Linked DNA regions of Homo sapiens: regions 2 and 3 are each linked to region 1. Evidence: promoter capture Hi-C in 16 types of primary human blood cells and fetal thymus (Javierre and others, 2016). All regions are on one chromosome and are shown on one strand. The core of a region is centred on a gene start or on the middle of the fragment in contact, and the rest is flanking DNA. Distances in the headings are between cores, read along the strand shown.

What was found. Contacts are between HindIII fragments. The CHiCAGO score rates a contact against its expected background, and 5 or more counts as called.
Region 2: a contact is called between a fragment that was not itself captured here and the fragment with the promoter of OR8D4 in region 1, in 1 of 17 cell types (erythroblasts). The highest score is 5.5, in erythroblasts.
Region 3: the fragment with the promoter of OR8D2 here is called in contact with the fragment with the promoter of OR8D4 in region 1 in 4 of 17 cell types (activated CD4 T cells, monocytes, erythroblasts and 1 more); the score reaches 6.8 in activated CD4 T cells.

What each region holds. Positions count from the first base shown.
Region 1 is chr11:123,900,833-123,903,644 of GRCh38, forward strand. It overlaps OR8D4 (olfactory receptor family 8 subfamily D member 4), which reads left to right and starts at 1,335. Exons shown (of 2, transcript NM_001005197.2): 1 at 1,335-1,425. The HindIII fragment of the contact is 7,569 bases long and covers 6-2,812 here.
Region 2 is chr11:124,356,859-124,359,670 of GRCh38, forward strand. It overlaps the pseudogene OR8B5P. Among named protein-coding and RNA genes, the nearest start is that of OR8B2, 26 kb to the right of the region's middle. The HindIII fragment of the contact is 2,505 bases long and covers 205-2,709 here.
Region 3 is chr11:124,318,853-124,321,664 of GRCh38, forward strand. OR8D2 (olfactory receptor family 8 subfamily D member 2) reads right to left here and starts at 1,345. Exons shown (of 1, transcript NM_001002918.1): 1 at 410-1,345. The coding sequence starts at 1,345. The coding sequence ends at 410. The region is part of intron 2 of LOC112268069 (a long non-coding RNA gene); the gene reads left to right. The HindIII fragment of the contact is 6,670 bases long and covers 1-2,812 here.

The DNA of each region.
Region 1 (2,812 bases), core at 85-2,584:
CCATAAGCTTCCTCATTCATGACTGATTTCCCCTGGTTAAGAATTGATCTCATTTTGTTATTTATCTAGTAAGTGAAAATCCTCTCCTGTAAGTTGGCCTATTTTAATCAGCATTTCAGATCACGATCTTCTAGACAGGAGAGAACAAAGTGTTCTGATTGAACTAGATGCTGGGTAGGAATGAGGATGATGCTGAAAAAAGTAAATTCTACTCTAAGCCGGTCATTGCGATAGGCCCTAATGAATGAGAAATTGTCCCTTGTCTCAACGGCGGGGGGGCAATTCCCAAAGAGCAGGGAAGACAGGCACAAATACATGTATGGGGGGACAATGTTAAAGCAGAGGTCAGTACACTGGGAGAATAGTTAAGGGAATAGGAATGGTACCAAAGCACTTTTCCCAAGGAAATAAATTGACATTAAAACATGTTTTAATAACCATCCAATATGAATGGGGGAAGGACCATGCTTTATTTATCCTGGCTCCATCTCCAGAAATTTAGTGTCTTTGACATGGTAGACACTATTGATTATGAGATAATCTGAAGTGGTGTCACAGTTTTCCCCAAAGGCAGATCTGAATATAGCTGTTTGCCCCTGAAAATGTGGAGGCTTTAAGTGCATGTGTTATTTTAACAGAGCCACAAAAGGCTCACCCAAGGATCACCAGGCACATTCTTCCAGATGTCCTGGAAAGCCATTAGAACAGACTGGAGGGCTGGACTCAGACTCATTCCTCTGACTCTTCTTCCATCATTAGCAGACACTAGAAACACTGAATCTACTGCTTTCATCCAAGAAACACTTCAGCTATTCCCAGTGTTCTTCACATATTCCTTAGGTTTTCTACTTCTCAGTTCCTTTGCTTATGCCTTTATCTACGTCTTGAATATTCTTTCATATCCTCTCAGCTTAAATGGATCCTCCCCACCTTTGAAGGCATATTTTACAATCTACCTTTCCATGAAGATCGTCCTTATCGCTCTAGACAGTAATGACCTGTTCCATCTCTGACCTCAAAGTCTACCTACTGCTTATTATACCAAGCACTGTCTATGATGCCTCATTTGTTCAACATTTTAAAATGCAAGCCATGTGTTAGACCATGTATCTTCCCCGACTGAATGGCAAGGGGCATTAGTGTGACTAATCCATGTTAGATTCCCAAAATGATAGGCCAGTTCATGGATAGTTCTTACAAATACATAGGCTGCTGTACCTCAGGAGACAAGAAACCCTTGGGACTACTGGTCTTTATATTTCTTGACACAAAATACCTGAACTGAGAATAAAAGTCATAGCTTCTTGTTAGCTGTTGTCACTCAGACACTTAAAGAAGAAGGTAAAATCAATCCATCTCTACTCCTGAAGTGATGAGGTTAGGAGAAAGAAGAGATACTCACCTACAGTCTTCAGGAGGAAAAAGGTGAGCTTCAGAATTATGATGTTCATATTATAAGTATATTAAAATGTGTTCTGAAATCAATTCCCGATTGTCCCCATGGGTTCTCGAGCTGCATGTTTGAGGCCACTGAGTCACAGAAGTTTAGGGAAGAGGCCATAGGCATCCATCTCAGACTCATTTATGCATTGTCCAGTCACCTTACCTAAGTATCTTGTGTCTAATATATGAATTAATCTGTGAAATCACCTGCTTTAAAAATATATTTACAAATATATTTATGTGAACCTTATAATATGTAAAATACATTCACAGTTATTGTCTCATTTGATTTGCATAACAATCTTTTGAAGTATTTATTATTTTTTACAGATTAAAATATGAAGTTCAGAGAGACTTTATGAGTCAAAGGTTGCACTGTAAATCTTAGAAATGAAAATGATACTGCATCTTATAACTCAGGGTTCATGGTCTTTCTGTTACCTCTGTACTAATGGTTTCTTTCTTTAAAAGGGGACAATTCAGATTTGAAAGATTTAGGGAAAAAGATCACATTCTAGACTTCTGTTGTCCAGTAATATAGCCACTAGCCATAGGTGGCTACTGAGCATTTGAAATCTGGCCGGGTATAAAATACACTATGGATTTCAAAGATTTGTATAATAAAATAATGTAAAATATCTCATTATTTTTAAAATATGAATTATATGTTGAAATGATGTACATGTACATCATTTTGCATGTACAGTTGGCCTGTGTGTCTGTGGGTTCCACATCTGTGGATTCAACCAATGGCAGATGGAAGATTTTTTTTTAATGGGTGGTTATATCTGTACTGAATATGTACAGACATTTTTCTTGTTATTCCCTGAACAATATACTAAAAGAAATATTTACTTAGCATTTACATTATATTAGGTATTATAAGTAATCTAGAGATGATTTAAAGTATACAAAAGGATGTGCTTAGTTAGGTTACATAAAAATACGACACCATTTTAAATCAGGGACTTGAGCATTCAGGGATTTTGGTATCTGAAGGGGTCCAGGAACCAGTCTCCTATGGATATCAAGGACTGAACTGAGTTAAACAAAACATACTAGTAAAATGTATTTTATCTTTTTATTCTGACTTTTTACAAAATGAACTTCTAGGATGTTTTAAATTGCCCGTGTGTCTGCATTATATGTCTATTGGGCAATGCTGATCTAGCATTTACCTTTGCAAAATACTTTCAATAGTCATAGTTTTAATAATACTGTGAGATGCATTGAAATGTTTAAAAACACTTTTCTTATGATTTTAAATTGCTAAAAACCACCTGAGTCCTGAATGAGGTCTGAATCAATGTAGTAGATTATTTTGGTCAGAAATACAACCTCATAAATTTGTATCCCTAGGCTAGTCAAG
Region 2 (2,812 bases), core at 207-2,706, 460 kb after region 1:
GCATACCAGAAAAAGTAGTAGACTTGAAATCAGGAGTCTATTAACTTATTTTTTTAGGCTTTTTTATAAAGAAATTGTGTGACTTTAAGGGAATCATTAGCATCTCTTAGTTTCAGCACCTCATAGATGCAATCAGTGTATACTGGTGATCTATATAAGCTATTTGGGGTATACCAAGGTAAACGTAAAATTAATGCCAAAAGAAGCTTCATGTGTAGTATTTAAAACTGCAAAGTGGGCTGTATTTGTTAAGTCTTGTTGAACCTTGTCTGTCTGGAAAACGCTGACGTTTAAAGGATGCATGATGCTGCCCAGTGGAGGATGGAAAGACGAGTAGAGACAGGTTGTCAGGCTCTTACATGCAGCGGAACATTGTTATCCTAATTTTACTTTACTTGATCATTTGAAAAACCAATCATCTTTTCTAGAAGAAAAAAGGAAGTCCATAATGACAATGGAAAAAGAGAAAAACTTTCTTTATTATTACACAGGAAAAATGATGAAAAGGGGAAAGATGTGCAAAGGGTGAGGGGAAAAATCTACTATAAAAAATTGGAGACAAATTGACAGGATGATACTCAACTAACCATCATCATGATAACAAATAGGAAAAATTATTTCCTCCTCAATTATTATAATAAAATACAGAGAATCCCCATCCTGTAACTACATACACAGAGAAATGTTGTTTATGGCAAAAACATTCTCCTACTCAGAGATTTTCCCATGGCAAATTTAACATCTTTCCTCCTTAAGCTGTAGATTAAGGAGCTCATCATGGGAAGCCCATTCATATAAAAAACAGAAGAGAATTTTCCCTCATCCATAGACCCAGCAGAAGATGGTTTGAGATACATAAATGCACTTAATCCAAAGAACAGAGAAACAGCAATTATGTGGGAACTGCAAGTGCTGAAGGCTTTGGACCTTCCCTCATTGGAACTGATGTGGAGGATCCTGGAGAGGATGTCACCATAAGAGATAAAGACGGTGACAGTGGGCACAATGGTATTGATGCCTGCCACAATGAAAACCACCAGTTCATTGATGTAGGTGCTGGTGCAGGAGAGCTGGAACACAGGGAGGATGTCACGGAAGTAATGATTGATGGTGTTTGCATCACAGGTCAGCCTCAGCATGCATCCAGTGTGGGCCATGGCCCCAGAAAAGGATAGGAAGTAGGAACCAAGCATAAGGCTGAAACACACTTTAGGGGACATGGCAATGTGATAAAGAAGTGGGTAACAGATGGCCACACAGCAATCATAGGCCATTGACGTCAGCATATAACATTCAGAAATAAATTAAAAAAAAAAAAAAACAGAAAAAGAAAAAGAAAAGCTAGATCATGCAAACCATGTAGGAGATAACATTCTCCTCTGAAATACACTTCCTCGGAAGTTGGAGTATAAACACAGAAGAATAACAGAGGTCTGTGAAGAACAATTTAGAAAGGAAAAAGTACTTGGGAGTGTGAAGACGTGAATTTCGCATAGTTAGAATTACCAAGACAAAGTTTCTTATCACAGTGACAACATACATTACAAGAAACATGAAGAACAGAGGGAGTTAAAGATCTGGCTAGTCTGTTAACCCCACCAGAATGAATTCATTCATCAAAGAGCCATTTCCAGGAGCCATTCTACTCTAAGGGAATCTATGGACACAGGAGAAAAGGGTTGCATAAGAGGACAACCCAGAACTTCCCATGGTGTTTTCTCCCACACCTTGGAATATTGTTGAGATTGTCTGAAACTAGACTGATGTGGACCCACAGAATCTGCCTTTACCACTACTATGTTACTGAGTGACATTGACTTACCCATGGTAGAATCTTACTAAACCAGATATAGCACCAACTTAGCCTATGGAGTGAAGGCTGGTTCTCCCATATGCAAACGTAACTCTTAAGAAGTGATAGAATAAGGGAGAAAAAGGATGAATGGGGACAGAATCATCCTTCCCTCATCTCATTATTTCTTCATTCACTTGAGTCCTCCCTCACCGTTAAAATTGGAAGCAGAGACCTTTGCGACCTGGTGCCCATCTCCAATGCAGATTAGACTGTGGTGTGGGAGGGAGAAAGAATCTTGTTTCTAATACACAGGTAGGGGAACCAAGTCTAGAAAAGGTTATATTACTACTCCAAGTCACAGAAAAAGCCATAAATCTAGAAGAGGTAGATTTTCATTCATGGAGAGGGAATTACTGACCAAAATACCGCATCCACCGCTTTCTCTGTTTTCTCTGAACATTCCCAGCTCCCACTTTAAATAGATTCTTACATCAGTTGCACTTGAATCTCAAGACTGACAAGGTGTAAAATAAAAGGCAATATGTTATATCCCTGTAATTCCGTTTCAAAGCAAGACAGTAATATAAATAGAATTCAGAAATACACCCTCTCATGCCAGACAACCTTGGTGCGTACTGTTGATTACTTACCCAGTGGTCCTGGAAGGGCAATTTCAGGGTCTGAGGCTTTGGGTTTTTTGCTTCTAAGAAGGTGCAGCCCAAACTCTATTTCCAGTATGTTCTGAAATTTTTTCTGAACTACAGATCATCTAATTTATTATTATTGCTTTGAATCCTCTCAAGCATCAGAAAAAATAAAGTCTTTATTGTTATCATATATGCCATTTAATGAGACACCAGAAGACTTACTATGAGTTTAATGATAATAATACAAGTTGTTCTAAAGAGGATAGAAGCTTGCTCAGTCTCTTCCCCAGGAAACAGATTTTAAGAGTAACAGGAAAACGGGGGAATTGTATTTCCACCCTGGACCATAATCTGCCTTTAGTTCCTTAGA
Region 3 (2,812 bases), core at 95-2,594, 420 kb after region 1:
CATGCTCTGTCATCCATTAAATCAACTATTTCAAGGCTGAGGATCGTGACTCAGGCTTCTAATTCCAGCACATTGGGAGGCCAAGTTTGGAGGATTACTTGAGGCCAGAAGTTCAAGACCAGCCTGGGCTTTCAAAAGTAATATGTTCAATAAATTGTTTTTAATGTTTATTTGCCCTTCCTCTTCTGTCATCTCCCATTTCTCTAATACATTTTCGAAGATTATATTGACCATCAGAAAATTTTGTTTCATAATCTCCAAAAATGTCTTAATCATTCTCTAATATAAAATATACATTTTTAAGTGATGATAATTTTTCTCTCTCCGAGAGAGACAGAAACTTACAAAGATCCTATAACAACTTTTTATATGGTTTATTTTTTCTGGCTGCCAATGAGAACCCTCTTTGTCAGGATGACTGCCTTCCCCTAGTCATCTTCTTCAGTGCATTTTTCACATCCTTGTTCCTCAGGCTATAGATTAGAGGATTCAGCATGGGGATTATTGTGATGTAGAACACAGAAGACACCTTCTCTTTTTCCATAGTAGTGCTGGAAGGGGGCTTGAAATACATGAATGTTATAGACCCAAAAAAGATGCCCACAGCCAAGAGATGGGAGCTACAAGTGCCAAAGGCTTTGGATTGCCCCTCAGTGGAATGAATACCAAGGATACTAGAGAAAATGAAAGCATAAGAGATAAGGACCGCCAGTGTAGTTGCTAAGGTATTAACTCCTCCAATAATGAACAGCAGAATCTCATTGATGTGGGTGCTGGAGCAAGACAGAGTCAATAAGGGGAGAATATCACAAAAATAATGACTGACCGTATGAGACCTACAGAATGACAACACTGACATGCGGGTAGTATGGACTGTGGCCCACAGAAAACCCAGTGAGTATACCACAGCCATCATTATGGAACAGACCCTGTGGGACATGACAATATTGTAAAGCAGTGGGCGACAGATAGCAACATAACGGTCATATTCCATGGCTGTCAGAAGGTAGCCTTCTGCAATTACAAAAATAAGGAAGAAATAAAGTTGAGTAATGCATTCCAGAAAGGAGATAATGTTCTCCTCTGGAACAAAGTTCACCAGCATCTTAGGGGTAATGACAGAGGAGTAGCAGAGATCAATGAAAGACAAATGACTGAGAAAATAATACACTGGAGGGTAAAGTTGAGAACTGAGAGCAATTAAGAAGATCATGCCCAGGTTCCCCACCACTGTGACCACATATATTCCAAGGAACAGGAGGAAGAGTGGCAGTTGAAGTTCTGGGCGTTGTGTCAAGCCTGCCAGGATAAACTCAGCCCCTGAAGAATGGTTTGAAGTAGCCATGTCTTTTAAGGTATTATGTGTAATAAGAAATAAGAGAAAAGAGAGACATTAGATTTATTTTCTGATTCCCAAAGCAGAATGACATGCCCCATGTTGGTTGCTTCCATTCCTGAGAGCCTCATCTGTCCCATGATTGCCTCTTTTCAGGGACCTCTTACAAGATCAAGGGCAAATATTATGAGTATAACCAAGAACCTTGATTTCACCCAAAACCCTGTTGAATGCTCCTCTTTTAGTAAGAGTCCTCCCATTTTGTTTCCAGGCTTATGCCCATAATTACCTCACTGCTGGAGGAAGCACAAACTTTCCAAATCTAATTAGTTTGTCATTGCTACCATTAAAACAACACTGCTTACCTTCTTTATCTGAGCATATGCCAATAGAACCTTCAGACTTTGTTACAACATGGCTTCTAATCCAGCTCTGATGATATAAAAGTAGTCCATTTCAGTTTCCTTACCCATCAACATGAATCAACATAATTAGCATTTGCTAAAACTAGGAAATAAGAAACATAAAAGACGTCTATAAAGAGACCTTAGTACAAAAAAAAAAAGTATGGAAATGGTTCTAATCAATTCTGACCCTCATTAGCTCACTTCTGTTCTTTGAATGGAAAACTTGAGTGGGCCAGGAGATTCTTGTACTCAGTGTGGATGTGGTTGACAGAAATGTTGTGCCAAGGGCTATCCTGAGATTCTAGTTTAGATCTTTCCTGTTCCAGAAACAGCAAAGAAGCAAAGAAGTAAGGCTGACTTTCAGGTGTAAGACCTGAACCATCAGCAACTCAGCGCTTCCCTCCTTGGCCCTTTCCTGCTATCCATTATTCATGGCCAAACTCTCACTGACCTTTCTCTTTCAAAGCTGTGAGATCTGAACTGGAGATTTCTTATTCCCTGACTTCGTTTCCCCTAAAGTTTAAGCAAAGGATTCAGGGTGTGTTGCTTTCAGCTGAAACACTGTATATTACCTAAGACATCAGGTTTCATAATTTTTTTCCAAAGTGAGAAAAAATGTCAAGGGAGGAAAAACTCCATACATAGAGTGAGATGTTGTTTGCTTTTATTTTGCATAAAAACATATTTTTATGATCACAAACAAAAATTTATAAAAATTTGCTTCTACAGTGTTTTAAGGGTACTCAATATGTATATCGATTTAAAAGCTGACAGGTGGGGTGTTATCTCCAAGAGCACTTGAGAAGACAGCCATGTTTCTGAATTAGGGGAATTAGAGAATACTCTAAGAGAAAGAGAATCAGAGTTACCAGAATGCAACTCTAACAAGCCCTGTTACGGGAAGTTCAGGAATTCTAGATTTTTAGCCTTACTTGGAAAAATATTCTACCAAATGACTGAATTAGCCAAAAAGAGAATTTGTTGAAGAAAAATAGCAGAGAGCTTATTTAGAGAGAGACAGTACACTCTGGAAAGGTGAGACAGAGCTGGCTGCTGAAGGGGAGTGAGC